Linked DNA regions of Homo sapiens: all the other regions are linked to region 6. The links are contacts of gene promoters, found by promoter capture Hi-C in human tissues and cell types (Jung and others, 2019). All regions are on one chromosome and are shown on one strand. The core of a region is centred on a gene start or on the middle of the fragment in contact, and the rest is flanking DNA. Distances in the headings are between cores, read along the strand shown. Region 1 has its middle 270 kb from the start of LINC01206. Region 2 has its middle 250 kb from the start of LINC01206. Region 3 overlaps LOC105374242 (a long non-coding RNA gene). Region 4 has its middle 93 kb from the start of LINC01206. Region 5 has its middle 130 kb from the start of LINC01206. Region 6 holds the start of SOX2 (SRY-box transcription factor 2). Region 7 has its middle 150 kb from the start of LINC01206.

Region 1 (3,471 bases), core at 552-3,051, 510 kb before region 6:
CATGGGGAAAGATGCTGTTTACATTGCATAAGTGATGCTAAAGCAAACCTTGTTCATTTAGGTGGACAGAGTGAATAAAACCCTTGGGGTGGATTAATAGCAAAGGTGTGTTTCAGAAGAAATGCTCTGTGCAAGTATCCATTTCTGCATTAGGGCCACAGGTACTGAGAGCTACCTCTGATGCTTCACACCTTTGCCAACATCTCCCTATTTTCAGAAAGGAAAAGCACTCTCAAGCAAAACACAGGGCTTTGAATTCAGCGAGGCCTGCCTTTGGAACCTGTTACCTATTAGCAATGTGCCTCAGGCAAGTCAATAAATCCCTTTTTGGTCCTCAGTTTCCTCATCTATAGAATGTGAACTAAATAAAATAAAATAAAATAAAATAAAATAAAATGAAGACATTTTAGCAATAAATTCCTTAAAAGATTGTTGTGAGAACTCAATATGGTTCTATGTTAAAATGGCAGGTACACTTGAAATGGTAGTTATTATCACCATGAACTTCACATGCATGCTGACTCTCCATCTGAAAATATGGTTCCTGATACCCTGCCTTGAAATATTTAAAAGCAACTGGCATAGAGTTGAGGACAAGAGATCTCTTTTCTCTATTACATAAGCAGAAAGAAGCACCTGAATATAAACAGTGTTGGAAGCCCTAACATAACATTCTAATGATAGGGTATTGTCTAGCTAAAGATACGAAAAAATCTTAGAGTGATGAATTTTTAACATTGAAATTTGACTTACCTCTTGGCTCCACTGCCTTAAATCCATTTTGGAAACAGGCAGAGTATAAATAAACAGTCAACTCTTCTCTGGATGTTTGGGTGAAAGCAGATGGTGATTGAGAAGACATGGGTCAGTGTGTGTGAGAGAGTTAAAAACAAATGTCTTATGAGGTAAATAACTTGAACAATAAGAATGGAAATCTTTTTTGAATGGGAACCCAGGTCACTTGGGTCTTTGCTCTGGGAGCCTCTTTGTTCTGTTAGCAACATTTGGGTAAATTGCAAAGCACAGTCCTCCAAGTGTGGCCACTTTCTCTGTCCTTGCCTTATCCACTTCCCTTTCCATTCCTTTATTGTGTGGCAGGATTTTTCTCTCACTTGATTCATCTTTCCCCATTGCTGTCCTCTGTTTGCCCACAGCTTCATGTTGGCTCACACATTACCTTGCCCCTATCCTCACCATTAGTAGGCATTCAATGGTATCTTTTGTTGGAAAACAGGACAGAACATCTGATGCTACCCAAATGCCTTTCCCTTTTTGTTCTCCATACCAGCCTCACATATGCCCTTTCTAACTGGTTAGCCCAAAGGGATTGTTGAGGGCACCCTGGGGATACTGCCTGTTAACTGAGAGTCATTTCCTTCCCTTAGCACCACTAATAGAACATTCCATTTGAGCTCAGAACTTATATTTGGATAACTGTGTTGAGATGAAACTTTCTTCCCATGCCCTCTGCTCTGTACTCCCAGATCGTTCTGAGAGCTTGTAGCATCCTATATTGTAATGTAATAAATATGTGTGAAGACCAATGCTTCCCTCCAGCTTATTGCTAAATTATCCACAGGAAAATTAAATACACACTTTGGGCTCTGGCAAAGCAGAGGCGTTAAACAAAACAAACTACTAAAACCATCAACACAAAAAACAAACAAACAAAAGCAGAAATGTGCAATTAGAAGACCTCGAAAGATGCAATTTTAATGTAGAACACTTCATTTTTATGTCTTTAAAACAGTTAAATTTTATTTTGAAACATCTGTGGGAAGGGAACACCACCAACCTTCCGGAATTCAGAGCCTCCTCAATTCGTACTCTGTGCCTGTTCTTGATGAGAGATTCTTAAGTGAAGTCTCCACCAGTCCCCTGAAACCATATTCAAAATCAAGTGTTGTTGCATTTTTTCGAGGTAAAACCTTTTAAGTTTCATCAGACTCTCAAAGGGCTCTGGAAGCCTGTACTGTTTAAGAATCACGGCACTAGTGAGCTGGAGAGATGAACTATGTTTGATTCATCTTTGTACGTTAGGGGCTAGGGCAGTGTCCAGCAGGGTGGGCACACAATATTGGTTAATATACAGTGAGTCTTCCTGAGTATTGAGATTATTTTGGCACTTTTATGCATCAAAGAGATGTAATTCATGATTCTGTGACCCTATTGTTTTGCGGTTATTTAACATTTTGGTCTACTTGATGGTGATACATGCACACACACACGCACACACACACTTTTTTCTTTCTAAATTATTAGATGGTCCCTAACACATTGGTAAGCTTAGACTAGCCCTAGGATCAAACTTGGTAAAATGATTGTTTGCAAATTGGAGTTTGCTACTACAGTTGTCCCTTTATACTCATGGTTTTGTATCCTCAGGTTCTGCATCTGCGGATCCTGCAGATAAAAATATTTTTTTAAATAAAAATAGGAATACAACATTAAAAACAGTATAACAACTATTTACATTTGCATTTATATTGTATAGATACTATAAGTAATCTAGAGATGATTTAAAGTGTGCAGAAGGTTGTACATAGGTGATATGCAAATACTACACCATTTCGTATGAGAGAGTTGAGCAACCTCAAATTTTGCTATGCACAGGGGATTTCTGAAACCAGTCCCAAACAGATATCAAAGGACAACTGAATTTCAATCAGAAATGTTTTTAGGTACTCCGTCTTCTCATTTGTCAATTTTAATTCAACCTGTTATTGCTTTGTTTTAAAAATTAGCTGGTGTTGTTTGCAGGCAAAATAAGTTCAGAAAATTTCATCCTCATTCATCAGAGTTTCTCCAGTATCTTTGTGTGAGAGTCAGTCCTCCAGGAAGCCTGTTAAACGTGGGGATTCCAGGGCCTCCTCCCCAGAGGGTCAAGATAACTAGTCTGGAATCTACATTTTTAACAAAGACGTCAATTGATTCTGAGAAGGGTACTCTATCAGTCTTTGAAAAACACTATTTTATATTGGCTCACTCTCTCCATTAGTATTCATTGAGGTTCAAATCTAAATTTAGGGAAAAAAATGGGCATGTATCACTTCTGAAACTTTCCTTTGAATCTTCATTTCCATGAGACAAAGAGAATGTGGAAAAATGCTTTAGGGGAGAAGGAACTAACCCTATTTTAGACTTGCTGTGTTTTGTTTTTCATTTTTAATATGTGGATGATTTCTAAAGCAATCAGTGAAAACCTAGGTAGCACTGGAAAAACTTTTCATGTTTGCTTTATCTTTGGTGCCAGAGCACATTAAATGTTAACACTGCGACTTGCAAGGACCCCCAGCTGGTGGATCCCTGAGGACAAGGACAGAAGTTCACCATGCACGGCCACTCTGCTTGTAAGTTTGTCTTCATGGAGCCACAGCCTCAGTATATTATGGCAATTTATTGAGCTCTGCCCGTTGTTACAGATAAATGTGTTGATAGGGCAGAACCTTTCTCCTCACATACCCTCCAGAC
Region 2 (3,738 bases), core at 313-2,812, 490 kb before region 6:
TTTGGTGACTTCAGTTGTAACATGGGATTAAAGGAATCCAATCGCCTATCCTCCCCACTCCTCCTCCTTTGCTGCAGGGAGTGTTATTTGGAACTTCCTTGCCCTCTCCCTCCCCTCTGCCCCATGACCAGAGTGAATTCGGTAAAGGGATGCTCATGGCAGCATTCTCTTTGGCACTCCAGGGAATGAAAACTCACAAACCACAGTGTGGCATGAGAAGGACTCCTGTGACCTGTCCGTGGATGAAGAGGCAGAAGAAGGAAAAAGAAGCACTTTATATTCCTTGAACGAGCACTCCTATTTTTCTGGTATGAATAAAAAGTCCAGAGAGGTGAAACGGAAAAACCCATGGGCTAAACCCAGGCTCTAACCCATACTCTCTACTTAACACTTAACGACTTGCATGATGTTGGGTCCACCACAGCCACCCTGAATTCCAGTCTCCTTGTTTATAAGAGGGGGGTATTAGGCCAGAGCATCACCTAGATCCCATCCACAGGTAACTCTGACAATGGAGGTTTTGGTTTGACGCTCAGCTCTGCTGCCAAGATGCCAAAAGTTCTTTTGGAGCCTCAGTTTAGCCATCAGCTCAGCAGTGTAACAATAACTCAACCAGTATGATGGGCATAGGCAACCCAAACTAGGAGGTGCATTCATTGATCTGAAGCCTGCAGAACTGGACAGCTGTCTGAAGAGCTGCGGGAAAGGGCTCTGAGATGAAGCAAAGTGAGAGAAAATGGTTGGCGTCTGTGGTCAGTGGGGTGAGGTGGAGGAATAACTGTTCAGATTTGTTTTGAAGTGTAGTTTTTCTAGAAGCTCATTTCATATTAAATTATAAAAACCTCATGGAAAAGTGATTACAGGCTCTTTCTGTGGCAATAAAACAGCCCTCAGGGCAAAGAAGCACTAAGGCTTAATACATCTAAAAATATCTTATTTTTCTACGGCTTGATTGAAACTGGTGTAGGTGTGCTGGCATTTGACTTGGGGAGGTCGTACCTTTTCTTCTTCTTCTTATAATACTGTTTGGCAGCTTTTCACTCTATCTTACCACAGATCTTTGCCAAAACTTGAATTTACTTCCGTCAGATTAACTGTCTCCAAAAACAAACTGGCATTTCTTCTAAGGGCTCCGATTAAAAGGATAAGCCTGAGTGACACCCCCTAAATGGCTGGATGTTCTCACACAGCTAGAAAATCAGAACTGGAAAAGTGGCAGAGGCTGTGTTTAGTCACACGGCAGCACAGGCATTTGGACGGTGAGAGGGGTTGCTGTTTCCCTGTGCTCCGTTTAGAAACGACGGGTGAATTATGATTTTTGAAAACACATTCCTCAAAAACCTGTCAGAAGAAATTCCTTGAAATCTCTCAACCACTGTTTTGTTCTAGGTCCCAGCCTTTCTGCTTTTTGTTTGTTTTAAATATCACCTTCGATAATTTCACTGATCAAATTATGTTGGCTTCCCCAACGCTCCAAGGAAACAGAGGGCCTCTCCCAGTTGCACAGCTGAATGCATATGGAATTTGAATGAGCCAACTATGTATAGGCCAAAGAACTTCCTCTCTTTAACATTCCAGTAGATGGAGAGGAGAGTCCAAGAAAGGCGGAAAGTGAGAAAAGATGAGAGACACATTTGTCCAGTTCTTCCCTCGCTCTTATATCATTTAATCCCTCAAGAATAAGAGTTAGGGTCAAAATTATTTTCCAAACAAGTATTTTTCTTTGTGTTTGTTCATTTATTGATTTTCTTTTAAATGTCCCTATGTTGAAGAAGAAAATAAGGAGGGAATAGGGAAGAAAGAAGCAAGGTTGCTAATTTACTTAACAGGTTACAAATATGAATGCCTAACAGATACAAAACATTTAATGAGATAACACTTGAGGAGTCGAAATGTGGGTCCTGAATATTCTCTAGCTGTGAATTTCCCCTTCTCCCTCCTTCTCACAACAGTCTTTCTCACTCAGTGTAACAATACCTTGAATGCAGGGGCTCTGCGGCAAAGCTGGGGAAGAATTATGCTAAATTCTCTAATCCTGTATTGAAACCATCTAATAATGGAAGGCGAAACAACTATGATTGCTTTTTTTAAAAAACTTTTATTACTTGACCTGAGAAGATGTATGATCAATAAATGATATTTTTAATTCATCTGAGAAAAAAAATTTGCTATATAAATATATAAGCCGATCGCTATATTTACTTAAAGTCTTTCATTGCCAAAATCCAAATTTCTGTGAGTTAGACACGGATTGGGCTTATCTAAGCATTGTTACATTATATTTTTATTTTATATCACTTGTCACTTTCGTTACTAGAAATGAAATCATCGTCACTTCTCTGGATAAGTTATCTGGATGAGTCAGAAATCAACCAGCCTCAAGTCCATCAAGTTACCATGCCTCCTTCCGTTCTCTCTGTACTGGTGAAAAGTGGAGTTAGCCCGTGGATCACTGGCTACTCCTCTGGTGCCCTCAGATGTGATATAAATATCCTACCAAGAATGAGGTTGTTCATAAAGACTTGGTATAAACTGAAGTGAATTTAAAAATATCTCTTAGTTCTCACTGACAGTCACCTCAGTAGAAATTCCTTAGTGCGTTAGATTGACAACCACTGGTGACAAGTGCTATTCCTGGGACTTTATACATATTTTCAGATCCGGTCCTTGAAACCAGTGGTTGCCAAACTTCTTTGATCATACACCCCGACAGTTTCACAATTTGGACCATGTATCCACAAAATATGCATATCCATTGATTTATTATATATATTTTCTACACTACCACTATATTATATACATTATAAAATGTGCACAAAAACAGGGATTTCAAAAGAATCTGATAAATATAAAACAAATTTTATTTTACATAAATTAGAATATTTTGCTTATAATTATTTATATTTCGCCTTCAAAAATACAACTAATAGTATTTTAACAAGAACAATTGAGTATGCTTCATGTTTTATGAAAATCCTGACTAATCAGTTTATAATAGGATCTAGCTCTAAGTTCACTTTGTTTTTATGCTTGCTATTAATGATATCAAAGCTTAAACATATTGTCATTATCCTTAACTTAGTGTGGCTATTTTACTAGGAGACATGCTGGCTTTGCCATTGCCTTGTTCATTTGAATTTGCATTATTATTATGAATTTCTGTATGTGGTTTTACTATAGGGATCTTTTTAAGCCACTCATTCAATTTGTAAGTGATACTTTAGTTACACCAAATAATATAATCCACAATTCCTTTTAGCCGAACACAAGAAAACCATAATGCCTTATAATGTGCTGAAGGCAGCCTAACACATGAGGGTGCCCCGTCAGCCACCTGTGATGCGATCTGCCTTCACTCCCTTACTGTCCTTCCTGGACTGTGTGAAACACACGGTCATCTGACACACGCAACAAGCAATGGCCCCAGGTCAATCACTCCATGGAACATTGAAGTCAGCAGAGTTGTAGATACATAAATATATGTGTACACAAAATTATAATGCATAACACACACGTGTGTGTGTGTGTGTGTGTGGTGTTTCACCCACTAGCTTGAGCATACTTGATTTTGGGGGCCACTTCTCTAGACTACCTTATAAAACATGGATTGTCCTCTTCATTTCACTGACAAGGAAAAAGAAACTAAGTTTCTGAGAGTTACAATTAGTAACTCTCATTTTTGCAGTTGGTCTTTTCTCATAACTACCGCCAGAAAAAAATAAAATAAAGCAAAATAGT
Region 3 (3,396 bases), core at 734-3,233, 310 kb before region 6:
TTTGAGTGGCTCAAGAAGCTCATGGGAATCCTCTGGCCTGTACACCTGCTTCTCTGAGATGGAGCATGCCACCTGGCCACAGATATTCTTAGATAGTAGTTGGTGACTGGGTATAGGATATGATTTCTAAGCCTATGATGCATTAATTCTGCGGTTTGTGCATAATCGTCCTGCTTAGAGTGTGGTCCAAGGTTTTGGTAGCATTAGAGACAGTCAAGGCCTTGACTTTCTTCTCCAGTTAAGGTTGGCTGCTGGAGGATAACAATACTAGGAGGCTTGCAAAGCCCTTATTTTAAGGCATTATCTTCTCCAACTTAGTATTAACTGCTCTAACACAGCAGGAATGGACAGGGATACTTTTGAAGGGTTAGGATATCAGCATCTTTCAGCTGCTTTCCTATTTCCTCAAATTCCTTAGGAATGGAGCATTTGCCCTTCTGTATGACCACAGCTACTCTCACTTGGAGGATCATCAATAGACAAGGGTCAACCAGCTCCAGAGGAAGCCTCTTCTACAGCTCAGAGAACCTATTCCTTTAAGTTTCCTCACCTCTGTTCCAATGCCAGACAAGACTTTTACTGCAAACACTTCAGTATCATTTCTAATAAAGATAGCTTCCTAGCTGAATATCTCCAACATACATACAATCTGTTGTATTTCAATGCCCTTCTTCAAAGGGCACTTGGTGTTTGAGCTCTAGTATATTCAAGTGAAATATGTCTGGGAAAAACCATTGTATAAATAAATATTAAGCAAATTTTTAACAGAGAGGCCCATGGAAGATGACTTTATTTTCTAAAACTTTTCAATCAAGTTAATGGAAAAATTGAAACCTCCAAGCCCTCTGTGTCATGGTAATTTACACTGTTACAGGATTGTAGCATGTCTGAAATATGAGGAATCTCAGCAGTCCTGAAGTTCATCAGCTTGGACACCAGACCCACAGAGGCCCAGTTGTCCATCTCTGCCCCACTCTCAGGGTAGGGCAAAAGGCAGAGTACTCTGAGGCCTCAGCAGGATCCTCCACCCTGCTTTTATTTCCTTTATATATTGGGATTCTGCATTGGGTTGATTGACTTAAAGGGCTTTTGCTGCCTAAGAAAAAGACTTAGAAATATTTGATTTTTTACTGATGATCAGTGTGACACCCTAATTTTACAAATGCAGCCACTGGGTAATAGGAAGAAGAGGTGACTTGCTCCAAAGTCTCCCCACTAATAAATGACAAATGATTTTTACTTCATATATTGCTCCATCTACCTGACAATGTGATCAATTCTGCCAACAAGTCACCTTTCTGAGTATCTCAGCCTTAAGCTGCCTTCAGCTTCATGGAAATCACAGGCTATGTTCCATATTTTGATATGAAGCTTAAAGGCACAAGAGCATCCCAAGGGCAACCTCCTCCTATTTTGAGGTTTGCGGTATTAAAATTAATCAAAAGTAAATGCTCCCAGACATAGAAAGTTCTTCTAATATACTTTTCGAGGAATGCATATTGAGCCACTCAACCTTACTGACAAAAGAGAAAAGTGCGCCTTCTTATGTGCCCTGGCTTTTTGCTTGACAGGTGGATCACAGTGACAATATTTGCAAGGGAATCTTTTGATAAATGGATGCCTGGCCTCTCATATCACAGAATTTGCTTTGAAAGGACAAAAACCTTACAGAGAGAGCATAGTCCTTGACAAACTGGGCCCCATAGACCTTTATCTCCAAACTGTCAAATCAACCCAAATAAACTCTTTGCTGGCCCCAGAACAGTCTTTGTTTATGCCACTTCCTTCTGATCATGTGTGAATCTTCAAGGTTCAAGTTCTTCACATCCCACTCCGCCCCCCCGAAATCTTCCTTGGCCTCCCAGAGCAGGAGGAGTATCTTCCTCTTCTTACTCCATATCCCTTAACATGCACTGCTCTCTAATAATAATAGTACAATTAACATCAACTAGCATGTACTTAGTGCATACTATTTGCCAGAGACAACTCATTGAAATAGGTACTATCGCTATTTTGTAGATGAGAAAATGAGAGTTAGTGAAAACAAGAAACTTACCCAAGATCAAACAGACGATAAATAACAGAATGGTTATCTGAACCCAGAATTCTATAGCCTGAGATGTTACCCCTTGTGTTATATATCATTGTGTCCCTTCTGGGTTATAAGCCACCTGAAGATGTGATCAGTTTCTTTATTGTCTCCGATCACCATGGTTTCTCATACAGCATGAACAGGGTGAGGCCTCAATGAAGAAGTGTCATTATAAGAGTCATGGAGACCACGTTCTGCAAATGCAAAATCCCTCAGCACTGGAAACCATTGACTATCCACACAGACACACACTCACACTCAGCATTTGGCTCTCTCTGCTGGGTCTGCTGCAGCTTGGCTGTTCTAATAGCTGATGGATTAGTGCTGATCTACACTGATTGCTCACACCTGCAATTCAAACTAACCCCTGTTCTGCTCTGTGCAATCAGCCATGCCCAGGTAAGACCATCAGCTTCCCAAATGACAGGCAAACAGAGACCCACCTGACGGGTCTGACCAGACACCTGTGAGATCTGCAAAGTGGGAAAGATGGGGGAAGGGGAAGGTGGAATTAGAAAATTAAAGCGCTAAATGTAAAGGGTAAAATAATGAATGCTTTATTTATTTCTCAGAAAGTTTAGAAACTTTGTAGATAGAAAACATCAAAGGTCTCCAGCTAACGACCACAGAGCAGTAACCAGCAATGGAATTTTTACAGGCACTAGGGTCTGGTATTTATGTCTGTATAGGAAGCTTTAGTCAGAGAAGTTAGATAAATCTTAGAATGTCAAAATTCCAAAACAGAATCATACTTTGATTTCCAGTGCCACCCTCTACCACAGAGCTCTAGATTCATTTGCTAACCTTGTCCCAGTAATTATCATAACATCTCATTCTGGAAATAAGGAACATGGATGGGAAAAAAAATGTAGTCTACAACAGGGCTTCGACAACTTGCTCAGACCATTTGTTGCAGGGCCAGAAAAATGCACTGTTCTTCTTGATGAAAGGTGTTCAGTTCTGTCAATTATGTTTTCTACTCTGCATTTCTCCTAAGTCTTAGTTTTCAATATGTAATAACGTGTGGAAAAATATATGATGTAGATATATGTATGTATATGGTTTTAATGATCATAGTTACAAAAGTAAAATCATATCCCCATTTATTCCCCTTATCCTTTGGCAATCCCTATTGCCTTCTCAAGGAAATAATTGTTAAACCCAGAGTAAATGGAATAGTTCCAGTTGCAACCATAAATAATTGGATTTGCTGTATTTCCTACTTTGAAAAAAAAATCCCTCTAAATTTTCAAAGTGTCAGATTTTTGCAGTATAAATTTTACTGAATTTGTTTGAGCTGTATG
Region 4 (3,486 bases), core at 969-3,468, 330 kb before region 6:
TGACATTTGATGAAGACTGATTAAACAACAGGGAGGGGAAGTTGAAGGCTGGGGTCCAAGGCGGAAGACAGCCAGGTGATGTTCCTGGAAGCGGCTCACAGGCCTGGGCCTGCGGCCTGGTCTTGGCGCCCAACAGGTAGGGGGTGTGCGCATGCGCATGATGAAGCCTGCGGCAAGGCGTACGAAACCCCAGTGATCCCGAGGTGATAAAGTCAACATGCCAGCCTGCCAAAATCTGAAGCCTGAAAAGGACCTATTTTCCACTACACATATGAAGACACCATTCTCATTCAAATATTTATTTGGACTTGGATTCTGAAAAAGACTTATTCCTGTTAGGCTTAGGCACTTCCTCATTCCTTTCTCTCTCTTTTTAAGATTATATGAGGATTTCCTTGTCATTTGTCTAAGGGACTGATGCCTTATTCATTGAAGTAGTAGCTGAAGCCTGAAAATAGAGAATTCAGGGACACATAAATTAAAGGTTGTAAAAGTTTAAATTGTTAAGCAAACTCAAGTCGTAAAATATACCCTCATTCATCACTCTGAAAGATTGTGTTTAAAATGAAGCCATAGGATACCTCCTTCACACCACTGATTTCTCAACTGAAAAATAATCAAGGGCAAGCCTTTTTTTTCCCTTAAAATTCAATTCTTTAAAAGAAAATTAGCGGTTGGGTGCATTGGCTCATGACTGTAATCCCAGTACTTTGGGTTACCAAGGCAGGAAGATTACTTCAGCCCAGGAATCCGAGACCAGCCTGGGCAACATAGTGGGACTCTGTCTCTACCAAAAAAATGCAAAAATTAGCCAGGCATGGTGATGTGCACTTGTGGTCCCAGCTACTCAGAAGGTGGGAAGATTGCTTGAGCCCAGGAGGTCAAGGCTGCAGTGAGCCATGACTGCACCACTGCACTCCAGCCTGGGTGACCCTGTCTCAAAAAAAAAAAATTAGCTTTTAATATAAATATTATGGCATGAGAAAGCTACAACCACATTATAGTTGTAGGAATTATTCATGAATGAACTATTTACAGAAGTAAAACTGATGCAAGCACTATTTTTAGATAAAAATATAAAATGGCCCTTTTGTAGGGATTTTTACTGTCCAAAAAAGATAAATAAATTGTGTGTAGTGCCTACCAGATGCCAGACACTCTTTCATGAGCATTAATCATTTAATCCTTATAGTAAGTCAATGATGAAGAAATTATTTCCAGCTTATAGGTGGGAATACTGAAGCCAAAAGATTTGTCAAAATTGCACCATCAAGTAAGTGCCAGAGAATGAAAATCAGATTTTTGACTAAAAATTTGATATGCTTTTCACTATACCGTGGTATCTCTTAGGTATGAATATTAAGCATTCTAGTGAGAATTAATTTAAATTTGTGCTTTCCTATATCCCACTCCAGATATGTTCCTCAGCTTTGAGGACTATATTGCAATATAGAGAAGGCATGTTCTAATAAAAGAGGCTGCCTTAAATCCTTTTTAAAAACAAAGTGGCATATGTATAAGTAAGGAAAGAAAAATTGAGAAAAAATTTTAAAGTCTATTAATTGTCTCAAAATGAAATGGTATTACATATAATTTGTGAATCATTAGAATGCTAGAGAAAGTTCCCAAAATGATACCCTGAATGAAATATTTTAAAGTATCATTAAGACTCTTAATCCAAAGAACTTTGGAGAGACTCTGTCCCTTTAGTTTTCTTTAATATATGCCCTTGAAAAAAAAAATGCCCATGCAATAAATGTTGACCAAAACACGTTGGCTTTGCAGTTGTGCTTTGCTATAAAATTAAAGATAAATTCTAATGAACTATGCAGAAGTATGACCTCATAACTAGGTAGGTAATGATACGGTCAATGCCAAAACACAGTCCTCATCAGTAAGAGCTGAAGCTTAAGGTTTGACATTTTATTTCTTTGTTCCACATGTTTATTTTTTGAATTTCTTAAAGACTATTAGAGGAAGTAAATTAATATCCTTAAATATTCATTGGCCCAACATCATACTGAATGGGCAAAAGCTGGAAACATACCCTTTGAAAACCAGCAGAAGACAAGGATGCCCTCTCTCACCACTCCTATTCAACATAGTTTTGGAAGTTCTGGCCAGGGCAATTCAGGCAAGAGAAAGAAATAAAAAGTATTCAAATAGGAAGAGAGGAAGTAAAATTATCTCTGTTTGCAGATGACATGATTGTATATTTAGAAAGCCCCATCATCTCAGCCCAAAAACTCCTGAAGCTGATAAGCAACTTCAGCAAAGTCTCAGGATACAAAATCAATGTGCAAAAATCACAAACATTTCTATACACCAATAATAGACAAACAGAGAGCTAAATCATGAGCAAACTCCCATTCACAATTGCTACAAAGAGAATAAAATACCTAGGAATACAAATTACAAGAAATGTGAAGGACCTCTTCAAGGAGAGCTACAAACCACCACTCAAGGAAATAAGAGAGGACATAAACAAATGGAAAAACATTCCATGCTCATGGATAGGAAGAACAAACATCATGAAAATGGCCATGCTGCCCGAAGTCATATATAGATTCAATGCTATTCCCATCAAGCTACCATTGACTTTCTTCACAGAACTAGAAAAAAACTACTTTAAATTTCATATGGAAAGAAAAAACAGCCCATATAGCCAAGACAATCCTAAGCAAAAAGAACAAAGCTGGAGACATCACACTACCTGACTTCAAATGGTATTACAATGCTACAGTAACCAAAACAGCATGGTACTGGTACCAAAACAGATATATAGACCAATGGAACAGAACAGAGGCCTCAGAAATAATACCACACATCTACAACCATCTGATCTTTGACAAACCTGACAAAAACAAGCAACGGGGAAAGGATTCCCTATTTAATAAATGGTATGTGGAAAACTGGCTAGCCATATGCAGAAAACTGAAACTGGATCCCTTCCTTACACCTTATACAAAAATTAACTCAAGATGGATTAAAGATTTAAACGTAAGACCTAAAACCATAAAAACCCTAGAAGAAAACCTAGGCAATACCATTCAGGACACAGGCATGGGCAAAGACTTCATGACCAAAACACCAAAAGCAATGGCAACAAAATCCAGTATTGACAAATGGAATCTAATTAAACTAAAGAGCTTCTGCACAGTATAAAAGAAACTATCATCAGAGTGAGCAGGCAACCTACAGAATGGGAGAAAATGTTTGCGATCTGTCCATCTGACAAATTGCTAATATTCAGAATCTACAAGGAACTTAAAGAAATTTACAAGAAAAAAACAAATAACCCCATCAAAAAGTGTCCAGAGGATATGAACAGACACTTCTCAAAAGAAGACATTTATGTGGCCAACAAACATGAAAAAAAGCTCATCATCACTGGTCATTAGAGAAATGCAAATCAAAACTGTAACGAGATACCATCTCACGCCAGTTAGAATGGTGATCATTAAAAAGTCAGGAAACAACAGATGC
Region 5 (3,888 bases), core at 1,338-3,837, 370 kb before region 6:
TTAAAATCCAACTTGACAATTTTTAGATTGGTATATTTAATTCATGTTGCTGATATATTTGGGTTTATTTCTACTGTATTATTTATGCTTATTTTTCTTGCTTTTAAAGTTGCTTTTTATTATTTCTTTACACATTTATGTTAGGTATTTTTCTCTTTCCATTTTTTCCTCTACTAATTTAGATATTACATACTTTATTTCTATTCATTTAGCGATTATCCCAATAAAGTAAACACATATGCTAACTTTTATCAAAGCCTATAGTTAATATATCAGCTTCTTAAACTATCTAACCATAGAGTTATATACTCATTTTCAACTAGATAACCATGTAAACCATAGAACGCTATCTCTGGTAACTACTTCTCAATGTTCTTACTGCCCTCTTTTTAGTTCTACTTTTTAACCTTACAAATTTTATCATTCTTGTCTTATTGTCAACTTTTGCTTAAGTTTGCTTATTATTTACCACCTCTAAAAAATCTTTATTGCATCCCAAATTTCCCCATCTGGGATGACTTTCCTCCTGCCTGAGGTATTTTTTTTAGATGTCAAACTCATTGAATATGTATTTGTTAGAAATTTGTTTTCATCCTTTTTTTCTGGAAAATTATTTTCATAGAGTATACAATTCCCGGTTTTCTGAACATCTTGACGGTACCATTCCACTGTTTTTCTGGCTTTCATTGTTGTTTCTGATAAGTTGGTCACAGTCTAATTGTTTTGCCTGTATGGATAACCCCTCTTCTGTCTCTAGCTGACCTTAAGAGCCTCTTTTTGTTTTCATTATTCTACTGTTTCACTAAGATGAGTGTAGATGGAAATTCCTTTTTTTTTTTTTTTTTTTTTTGAGACAGGCTCACACTCTGTTGCTCAGGCTGGAGTGCAGTGGCACGCAATGATGGCTCACTGTATGTAGCCTTGACCCTCCTGGACTCAAGCGATCCTCCTGCCTCAGTCTTCTGAGTAGCTGGGACTACAGGTGAGTACTGCTACACTCAGCCAATATTCTTATTTTTTTTTCCTTTTTTTTATAGAGATGGGGTCTCACTATGTTGTCCAGGATGGTTTTGAACTCCTAGGCTCAAGCAATCCTTCCACTTTGGCCTGCCAAAGGGCTGGGATTACAGGCAGGAGCCATTGTGCCTGGTCCTGAATTATTTTTAATTATTATTCTTGGGATTCTTTAAAATTCCCATATCTAAGAAGTGTGTTTCTCATTTTCTGGAAAATGTTCAGCCATCATTTCTTCATATGTTCTTTCTCCGATGCATTCTCTCTCTTTTCTTCTGAAACTCTACCTACATGTTTCTTAACTATTCATTTTTTAAAATTTCTCTGTGTGTTGCATGCTACGTAATTTCTGTCTTCACCGGTGTCTAATCTGCTATCAATGCCATCCATTGAATTTGTCATTTCAATTACTATTTCTAATTTTTTTAAATTTGTTTGAAAAATTTTTAGTTTCTTGCACCTTACTCCTAATTATATTCTCTTACTTTTTTCCTTTAAATACATAAAACGTATTTATTTGACAGTATGTGACATACAATTACGGGAATAAAAATATTTCCAATTAAATATTGGAAAGCCTTTGCAGATCTGTCTCTGTTGGCTCATGTTCATGGTGTATTGTTTTCCAGGTATTAGTTGATTTTTAGATTATGAGCTCATGGTTATTGGAAGTTAAATATACATGGGAATTATTTGGGTCTGAGTTTTAAGCGAGTTTCTCCAGATTTGTGTCTTCTGTCCTAGACACATGAGCCTAGCTCACCTAGGACCACTTTAAACCTAATTATTGGCTTTAGATTTTCAGCACACCCAGATAGCATGTTTTGGGGCCACAAACCTAGGTGAGGACTCACTGATGACTGAGAATACTCAGGAAATATTTTTATTCTCTTCCCACCAGCAAGACTTGAAAGAGGCCGTTTTTCTTATTTCCCCTTGGAAGACAGGTTTTTCTTTTTCACCCTTACTTGGAGGCTATGACCTTTTGGGGCTTTAGCTTTATGTCGGAGGTCCCCTGATTAAATTCCCCTCCTTAGGTAGGACCTATGTTTTACCTCCTGTCAGCAGTATGAAAACTGACACTCAAAGTCACTGACGTTCAACCAGCTTCAGGGCAGTGTGTGAACATGCTTCAGTGTGCTCAGCTTGCCACTCTGGGTTCCTACTTTCACTCAGTATTTGACCTGTCAGGAATCCTCATCTTCTTGCCAGCTCATCAGTGCCTTTACAAAGATTCTTTATGTATGTTATATGGTACTTATCCAGTTTTCTTTAGCAAGAGAGTCAGCCAGTGCTTCTAGCTGGCCATACCACTAGACATAGAAGTTATAATAACTATCCACCAAGTAGGAGATTAAATCTGTCCTTCACACTTTAAAACCAGTCACATGCTTCTCTTCCTTAATTCTGTGTTAAATATTTTTACCTAAATATATCAAAATATATTAAGGCAGATGTCACTCTCCCCAGTTTATGTTACAGGGAATCCCATAGTGGCTTTATTATTCATTCATTATCTGGATTCTTCCATGTTGCCCAAATTCAAACAAGTTTTGAACCTCTGAAATAAAGCTTACTAAAGGTTTTATCACCATTTTAGCCTTTAATTACTTGGACAAACTTACCCCTCTTCAGAATGAATATCAAGCTAATAGATGCCTGAAATTGAGCTGATCTTCTACATCAAGGGTTTCCAAAATGAGAGAAATTACTAGCTTTTTTTTTTTTTTTTTTTTTTTTTGAGACAGAGTTTGCTCTCGTTGTCCAGGCTGGAATGCAATGGCACGATCTCTGCTCACTGCAACCTCCACCTCCCAGGTTCAAGGGAGTCTCCTGCCTCAGCCTCCTGAGTAGCTGGGATTACAGGCATGTACCACCACACCCAGCTAATTTTGTATTTTTAGTAGAAACAGGGTTTCTCCATGTTGGTCAGGCTGGTCTCGAACTCCTGACCTCAGGAGATCCGTCTGCCTCAGCCTCCCAAAGTGCTGGGATTACAGGCATGAGCCACCACTCCTGGCCTACCAGCACTTTTATTAACAAAAATGTTTATCTTAAAAGTCAAAAAGAATTAATATTTACCAGTGTGTAATATAGGAGTTGACAGTTATTCTTACTTGGCCCGCATGCTCTGAGGGAAGAGGGCATGTGTGATCCCCCAGAGTGTGAAGGGATCAACAGTGGTGGCCTCTCTTTCCTCCTTTGTCACACTACAACTTACTGGAGTGTGTCCCCAGTTCAGCACATTTCCAGACTATATTTTCTAGTTTATGCTCACGCTTTCAAAACGAGCACCTGGCTTTTTAATTTTTTCTGCAAAGATGCTGTGAGAATCAAAGAGAATATTAATTATGCAAGCACATATAAACAACAAGAAAATGGCAGAGATGACACTTCTCCCACTCCTAATATAAGCTCTTTGTTCATCACATTACAGAGAAAAAATTAACGATCTTATCATATCTGACAAGACAGTGTCCCCCTCCAATCAATTTATATCCACTGTTATTAATGAATTGTCTTGCCTCAAATGTGAATTTTGCCCTGAGATATTAGCTAGTGATAGTTGTATATGTACGTTGTATATAATCAATAAATATAAGTGTATTGGGGTTACACAGTTAACAATTGCTTATTGTTTGGAAAGACTTGAAACCTACCACCCAGGCACCCCCTCGAAAGATTTTGCGTTCACATAATTATTTCCTCTATGATTATTGTAATTCATATAGGTACTGTGTTTTAGGTAATTCACTCTTTGTCCTGTAGAATGATTCATTTGGACAAAATTCATTCCATGTCCAAGCAACAACCAACACTTCCTTTCCACTTCCAATTGTTTGGCTAGCTTTACTTTATTTTCAAACCTCACGT
Region 6 (3,433 bases), core at 45-2,544:
GGGTTCCGGCACCTCGGCGCCGGGGAGATACATGCTGATCATGTCCCGGAGGTCCCCGGCCTGGCAGGGCGCCCTGGAGTGGGAGGAAGAGGTAACCACAGGGGGGCTGGAGCTGGCCTCGGACTTGACCACCGAACCCATGGAGCCAAGAGCCATGCCAGGGGTGCCCTGCTGCGAGTAGGACATGCTGTAGGTGGGCGAGCCGTTCATGTAGGTCTGCGAGCTGGTCATGGAGTTGTACTGCAGGGCGCTCACGTCGTAGCGGTGCATGGGCTGCATCTGCGCTGCGCCGTGCGCATTGAGGCCCGGGTGCTGCGGGTAGCCCAGCTGGTCCTGCATCATGCTGTAGCTGCCGTTGCTCCAGCCGTTCATGTGCGCGTAACTGTCCATGCGCTGGTTCACGCCCGCGCCCAGGCCGGCGCCCACCCCGACCCCGCTCGCCATGCTATTGCCGCCGGGGGCCAGCAGCCCGCCGGGCAGCGTGTACTTATCCTTCTTCATGAGCGTCTTGGTTTTCCGCCGGGGCCGGTATTTATAATCCGGGTGCTCCTTCATGTGCAGCGCTCGCAGCCGCTTAGCCTCGTCGATGAACGGCCGCTTCTCCGTCTCCGACAAAAGTTTCCACTCGGCGCCCAGGCGCTTGCTGATCTCCGAGTTGTGCATCTTGGGGTTCTCCTGGGCCATCTTGCGCCGCTGCCCGCGGGACCACACCATGAAGGCATTCATGGGCCGCTTGACGCGGTCCGGGCTGTTTTTCTGGTTGCCGCCGGCCGCCGCCGCGGTGGAGTTGCCGCCGCCGCCCCCCGAAGTTTGCTGCGGGCCCGGCGGCTTCAGCTCCGTCTCCATCATGTTGTACATGCGGGCGCTGTGCGCGGGCCCGGCCCGCCGGCGGCCGCCGACCCTCGGCCCGGCCGGGACTTTGGGGGGCCCGCGGGCGGGGGGAGAGGAGGAGGGGAGGCGGGCGGGGGTGTCGGGAGCGCAGGGCTCCGCGAGGAAAATCAGGCGAAGAATAATTTGGGGGAAAAAAAGAGAGAGGCAAACTGGAATCAGGATCAAAAAAAGCGCTTCCCTCCTCCTCTGGCCGATCCTGCCGCCGCCGATGATTGTTATTATTATTTTTTGGAAAGGCTTAAGCCTGGGGCTCAAACTTCTCTCCCTTTCTTTCTCTCTCCTCTTCTTTCTCTCAGTCCTAGTCTTAAAGAGGCAGCAAACTACTTTCCCCCTTTTGCAAACACTCTCTTCTCTGCCTTGACAACTCCTGATACTTTTTTGAACAAGTTAATAGACAACCATCCATGTGACGGGGGCTGTCAGGGAATAAATGGGTTTCTAGCGACCAATCAGCGCGCGGCGGCTCCTCCACTCGAGCCCAGCCTCGCTGCCGGGTTTTGCATGAAAGGGGGCGGGGCCTCCCGCGCCGCCGGCCGCGCGGGGGAGGCCGGGGGAGGAGGGGGCAGGCGAGGAGGGGGAGGAGGCTCCCAGAGCCAGCCTGCCAGCCACTGAGAAACCTTTGTATCCCCTCTCGCAGCAACAGGTCACACCACACGCCTTTTCGAAGGAAGTGGGTAAACAGCACTAAGACTACGTGGGTTTTTTTTTCTTTAAACTTAATATTGATTTACTTTTTGGTGCAGGGTACTTAAATGAGGATGGGACGCGGGAAGCAGCTAAGGTGCGGGGGTGGGGCAGGGCACAGTGGGTGGCTCAGGGCGGCTGTCCAACTCGTATTTCTGGAAACAGCCAGTGCAGGAGTTGGTGTGTCATTGTTCTCCCGCTCATCCACAGCACTCCCCCCCAACTCCAGCCCCTCTGGTGCCGCTCCCGTACTGCGCTCTTCCGCTCTCCTCTCTTACCTTACAGGTGCCAACACTCTCTCACGCCCTTCTCACAGTCCCGACTAGAAGTTAGGAGACCCAAACCTCTGTCCTCAAAACCTTCCTTGCTTCCACGTAACTTGCTCTGTTCTTAAAAATAAATCCTGCTCGGACCATAAGGCAGACTCTAGAGCTGAGAACCAGCAGGCCTTGGTAAGCTGCCATCTCCCTGTCCAACTCAGCTCTTTGGCCCAGGAAACTGCAGCTCTTCCTCTTAGCCCCAGCCACATCTCCCACTAGACTGTCTTCATTCAACCGTAGCAAAGGGGATGCTTCTACTGTCTGCCCCCACTCCCCATTCCCATCCCATGCCTCCCCGTAAGAAGGGTTTCGGTCGTGCGGCTTTCAAATGGGGGCTGGGGAAAGACACAGACGGAAGGGCGCTCAAAAGTGCAGGCGATGGGGGAGGGTGATTTCAACTTCCTGGCATCCCACGGCACTGTATGGAGGTGGCTTTTGGGCCGCAGTCACAAACTCCCTCCCACGCAGAGTTCCCAGGACTCCAGCAGAACCAGCCCTGGCATTTTCCCCGTAGATTTCCATTGTGGTGGCCGCAAAGCCCAGGCCGCGCAAGGCTGGGGCTGCGCCGCAAAGGGGCTCAAGGCCTGGGAGGCGGGGTCGATGCTCTCCAGGCACAGGTGCAGGCAGCGCACACTGGGAGAAGGCGGCCGGGACTGGGGAAGGGGGAGCCCAGCAAGGCCCGGGTTAGAGGAGGATGAGATGGGGGCGGGGGTAGGGGCTCAGGAATCTTGCCCGCCCAGGACCCAAGAGGGTAATTTTAGCCGCTCTCCCATTGTCCCGACGTAAAGATTTCAATAGGTAGGCGCTCAATGCGGAGGGCAATGGCAGCACGTCCGTTACAAATAGGTAGTTTTGTTTCTCTTGTTGTCGCTACACGGAGTCAAACAAAGCCTCGTCTAAGTTTCCTTCCACTCTCTTGTTGGGATCTTTGTGGCTAAAATGCACTTGACTACAAAGGGTGGGGTGGGGGGGAATAAAGAAAAAAAAACCTGATGCCATTTCTTTTTTATAAAGGGCTTAAACCATCAGGGTTACTTATTTTCTTTCTTCTGTAACACTCTCTCCGCCCCCTCCTCCCCTGGTCTACCCTTACTCACCCTAAGAAAATGTACTGAATAGTATCTACCAGCCACGTTCCATTTATTATCTTTACAAAACGGTGCATTGTTTTGTTCCTTACTAACCTTCTTCCCATAATCACTCCCCCGACCCCCAATTTCTCCAATCTCTGCCCTCCCTAGCCTGTTACTGTCAAACTCACACTAAATATACCCACTGGAAACTCAGAAAAGTTGTAAAAAAAAGAATTCTGCAGACTTTCCTTAAGTTATTTCCAATCAACCTTCCTGCCCCCCGAAGGTTCTCCTTTTTCTCTCAAGTTATGGCTTGTTTTAGTTCTTGGGAACCCGGAAAGGGTGAGATTGGGTTTCTCAAAATGCATACATATTCGGCGCTCTTCAAAATACAGCACTGTTTTCTGTTTAATCCAGGTGTAATATTAAGGTAAACACGGACCTGGAGATTAGGAAAGAGAAAAG
Region 7 (3,626 bases), core at 461-2,960, 390 kb before region 6:
AATAAATACGGTCTTAAATGACTCTCCCATGGACCAAAGTATATGAGAAAGAACTTCCCAAATAGTAGACAGTAACTATCTAGATGAGTGAAAGCAACAAAATGGATCCAGGATTCAGAATAGGCCAGACTTAACAGATTTAACTTAATTAACATCTTGTAGGTATTCATACCATAACCTTCTGTGAGGTCTACAATTCAGAAAAAATAAGGAGAACTTGGAGAAAGGGATTCCGGTGTTGGGAAGTGAAACCTACGCAAAAAAAAAGGAAACTAACTGGCAGGCTTCAGCCAGGAAAAGAAATGTTTATAAGGTGATCCATGCATGCAACTAACACTTAGTTAATGCTTCCTATTTGCTAAGTGTGTAGGTCTTGATAGGAGGTATAAAAATGTAAATGACATGGCCTCTGCTCTCAATGAACCATTAGTCCAGTAAATACTGATTTTCAAATTCTAAACATTTATTCAGAAAAGGGTTTCAAGCTCTCACTAAAGGGCAGCCAATTTGTTGAATGTAGAACAGTAAAAATGAAAACATGGTTTTTGTTCACTGTATACTCTGATATGTAGAAATATGTAAATAACTCAGTATGATGCAAAGATTTCCATATCAGTCATGACAGACTAGGCTATGCCGCCATGACAAATAACTCCAAAATTTCAGTCACCTGAAACAACAAATGTTTGTTTCTCCTTCGTGCTACCTATCCACTTGATATATGGGATACGATTATCAAACCAGGCTTCAGAAGAGTGAGTCTTATTCCCATGTTTGCTGGAACACAGTATTAATAAGACCAATATTAATATATTTACTATCCATTAATAGAAGGTAAAAAGAAATCTTCCTCAAGGTCTTCCAAGACAGAGTTTCAGGTTGACCTCCAACAGCTGTAGATGGTCTGTTGTTTGATGGCCTCTTTCTTGGTCTTACTCTTCTTAGGCCTCCCCTTCAATCCTGCCATGTGTAGAGCTGGGCTCTTGGAAGCCCACATATAGCCTCATACATGTGACTCCCTCTACCTGGAACATAGCCCCTGGCCCCCACTATCACCTACCTACATCTAGTTCTGTGCTAATTTGGGAGGTGTAATTAGACACACACACACATACACACACACACACACACACACACACACACACACACACACCACACAAACACTGTCTCACAAGAAGCTCCAGTCTTAGGAAACCAGAAGAGTAGTATTTCTTTTATATGGGAAGTTCTATTATGAATCCACCTGAACAGCACTCATCTAACACATCTGTATTGAGTCCTAGCTGGGTACCAGGCATGATACTGGGCACCAGAGATTCAATGGTGAACCACACCAACCCGTTCTCTGCTCTCATAGGACTCAGTGAAGAGGCAAATGTTAGTCAAATAATTACACAAATGGACATTCCACATTGCAATAAATATCATAAATAAAAGGAATAGTGTTGTAAGTGTGTATGGCGAGGATTCTGGGAATGTTTTCTCAGGAAATGGCATTTGAGCTGAAACCTGAGGGATGAGTCGCAGTTAACGGAGAACAGGAAATGAATGGAGTTAGTGGTTTCCAGCCATATAATGGTTAGTCTTGACTCATGCCATAATAAAACTAATAAGAAAAAACTAAAGAAGTTTAAGAACAGTTTAATTTTAAAAATAATTCTAGACCATCCATATAATTGTATCATCCTCAATTACTTGTATCACATTTCACTTCTTTCTGTTGGAAATAATGGAGTTACAAGCCATGTACTCTGAACTGCACACATCCTCAGATACATTTACTAAGGTGTTTTTTTGTTTTGTTTTGTTTTGGTTTTTTTGCCTGTGAACATCAACCTCTGACATGTGCCTCCATTGATGAAAGGATGAAAATTAGTAGAGAAGATGACATATCATAGAGAATTCCAAGCCAATGTAACCATTATATGTCAAAGTAAGGCCATACACAGTAGAGAATGTCAAAAATTACAAAATGCAATTTAATAATTTTTACTAGTAATTTTACTGGTAAATAATAATAAAACATTAATTGGTTGATTTTTTTAAAAAAATTTCAATAAAAGATGTTTTTAGAAGCAGTGCTGAGGCAAACATATATTTAATGTTGCCACAATACAAATTAAATATCACATTGGCTTTTTAAAAAACTGTTTGCTTTATTTCCTCTGCACATCCCAATCCAGTGTTTTCTACAGGTACACATACATGATGCATTTTATACATATTCATCCCCATAACTTGACAGGTGGGAGGGATTCTTGCAGACATTTCTAAAAGCAGACAAAAGGCCGTTGGTTCTGCTTTGCACGATGGTTTGTGAAGACAGAATATCACACACTTCCACTGATGATTATATAGCTCTATCCATCTGTCTGCCACTGGAGGTTGGGAGACGGAGATACAGCTCCCACCATCCCTGTAAACAAAAGTAGACCGTGCTGTCACCAGTCAGACACGCCAGCTAATTGGAGCTGTCGACAGACACAATATTCTGTGTCAACAGCTCTAGTAACAGTTTGAAACAGCAATGATATGTTGGTTGATGGTGAAGATGACACATGTGTCTCTAATAGCATGCTAGAAATCTGACATAACTAGAAAAGAATTACTAAAATGTGATTCCTGGCCTCTGGTTTTCCTGTTCAGACTTACCCATCTCTACAGAGGTTGGAGAGGAGGGGATTGTTGTAACACATCTTTCTCTGTATCATTTCACAGGCTGACAGCTTAATTTGATACTCATAATGTCTAACTTTAAAATTAATCTTGCTAAAAAGATTTGTTTCAACAAGCCTCCAAATCTTAAACTCTTTTGGAAAATTAATAAGAAAAATAAGAAACCCTTATTTGTATAGCTTCCTGGGTTGAGACCAAAATAAAAGGAGACATTTTGTCAATGTACCATTTATGTGACTAAGAATTTATATGATCTTCAGGAAAGTAATTTTTACAGAGTTAAATGAATACATATGCGCATAGATGTGGCTTATTTTTGAACTTCACTTCATGAGAGACAAAATATTCTCCAAATAGAAACAATTTTGTCAAGGCTTTGGGACATAAAGGCATACTGTATATTCATCTCTTTGTAAATTGTACCTATTAGGGAAACCTTACATTATGCATTCTATTAACGAAAAGTCAGGAAGTCCCTTGTTGCTTTCCAATAGTTTATTTATCTTCTAAATAATTTAATCACTTGACTGTCTAGGTTTGAATTTTAGCTTGGCCACTTACTGGGGTGGACAAGTTAGTTAACCTCTCTGTACCTCAATTTTCTCATCTATAAAATGAAGACAATAACAGCACCTACCACATACAGTTATAAGGATTAAATGGATTGTTACATGTAAAGTGCCCAGGACATGTAAAGTGCCTGGCACATCACATAGTAACCAGCCAATACGTATTTTAATTTATTACTAGCATCATCATTATTATTGATGGTTCATGTCCAAAGAGAGCCTTCAATGATTAATGAAAGCAAGGAAATATATCAAAAAACAGTTCAAATGCCAAATAGGCTTGGGAGTCAAACAGACCTGAATATGAACCCTTGTTCAGACATTTACCAGGCTTTATGAGCTTGGACAAGTCACTTAACCTCTCTAAACCTGTTCCCTTCT

What was found. The method cuts DNA at HindIII sites, captures the fragments that hold promoters and counts their contacts. A contact is called where the count stands out against the background at its distance.
Region 1: a fragment that was not itself captured here is called in contact with the fragment with the promoter of SOX2 in region 6 in 2 of the 25 tissues and cell types used here (dorsolateral prefrontal cortex and lymphoblastoid cells).
Region 2: a contact is called between a fragment that was not itself captured here and the fragment with the promoter of SOX2 in region 6, in 3 of the 25 tissues and cell types used here (dorsolateral prefrontal cortex, mesendoderm cells and neural progenitor cells).
Region 3: a contact is called between a fragment that was not itself captured here and the fragment with the promoter of SOX2 in region 6, in 2 of the 25 tissues and cell types used here (lymphoblastoid cells and thymus).
Region 4: a contact is called between a fragment that was not itself captured here and the fragment with the promoter of SOX2 in region 6, in 1 of the 25 tissues and cell types used here (lymphoblastoid cells).
Region 5: a fragment that was not itself captured here is called in contact with the fragment with the promoter of SOX2 in region 6 in 1 of the 25 tissues and cell types used here (liver).
Region 7: a fragment that was not itself captured here is called in contact with the fragment with the promoter of SOX2 in region 6 in 2 of the 25 tissues and cell types used here (aorta and dorsolateral prefrontal cortex).

Annotation. Positions count from the first base shown.
Region 1 is chr3:182,216,755-182,220,225 of GRCh38, reverse strand. No RefSeq gene overlaps it. Among named protein-coding and RNA genes, the nearest start is that of LINC01206, 270 kb to the right of the region's middle. The HindIII fragment of the contact is 5,463 bases long and covers 1-3,471 here.
Region 2 is chr3:182,199,453-182,203,190 of GRCh38, reverse strand. No RefSeq gene overlaps it. Among named protein-coding and RNA genes, the nearest start is that of LINC01206, 250 kb to the right of the region's middle. The HindIII fragment of the contact is 3,991 bases long and covers 1-3,557 here.
Region 3 is chr3:182,022,975-182,026,370 of GRCh38, reverse strand. It overlaps LOC105374242 (a long non-coding RNA gene), which reads left to right. Exons shown (of 3, transcript XR_924755.2): 3 at 419-641. Among named protein-coding and RNA genes, the nearest start is that of LINC01206, 72 kb to the right of the region's middle. The HindIII fragment of the contact is 3,587 bases long and covers 190-3,396 here.
Region 4 is chr3:182,043,198-182,046,683 of GRCh38, reverse strand. No RefSeq gene overlaps it. Among named protein-coding and RNA genes, the nearest start is that of LINC01206, 93 kb to the right of the region's middle. The HindIII fragment of the contact is 3,356 bases long and covers 541-3,486 here.
Region 5 is chr3:182,083,398-182,087,285 of GRCh38, reverse strand. No RefSeq gene overlaps it. Among named protein-coding and RNA genes, the nearest start is that of LINC01206, 130 kb to the right of the region's middle. The HindIII fragment of the contact is 4,458 bases long and covers 359-3,888 here.
Region 6 is chr3:181,709,786-181,713,218 of GRCh38, reverse strand. It overlaps SOX2 (SRY-box transcription factor 2), which reads right to left and starts at 1,294. Exons shown (of 1, transcript NM_003106.4): 1 at 1-1,294. The coding sequence starts at 858. All of the region lies in intron 6 of SOX2-OT (SOX2 overlapping transcript), which reads right to left. RefSeq lists enhancers at 1-304, 305-1,158, 1,159-2,011, 2,012-2,865, a silencer at 1,394-1,453 and a promoter at 1,033-2,066. The HindIII fragment of the contact is 19,833 bases long and covers 1-3,433 here.
Region 7 is chr3:182,103,975-182,107,600 of GRCh38, reverse strand. No RefSeq gene overlaps it. Among named protein-coding and RNA genes, the nearest start is that of LINC01206, 150 kb to the right of the region's middle. The HindIII fragment of the contact is 7,214 bases long and covers 1-3,626 here.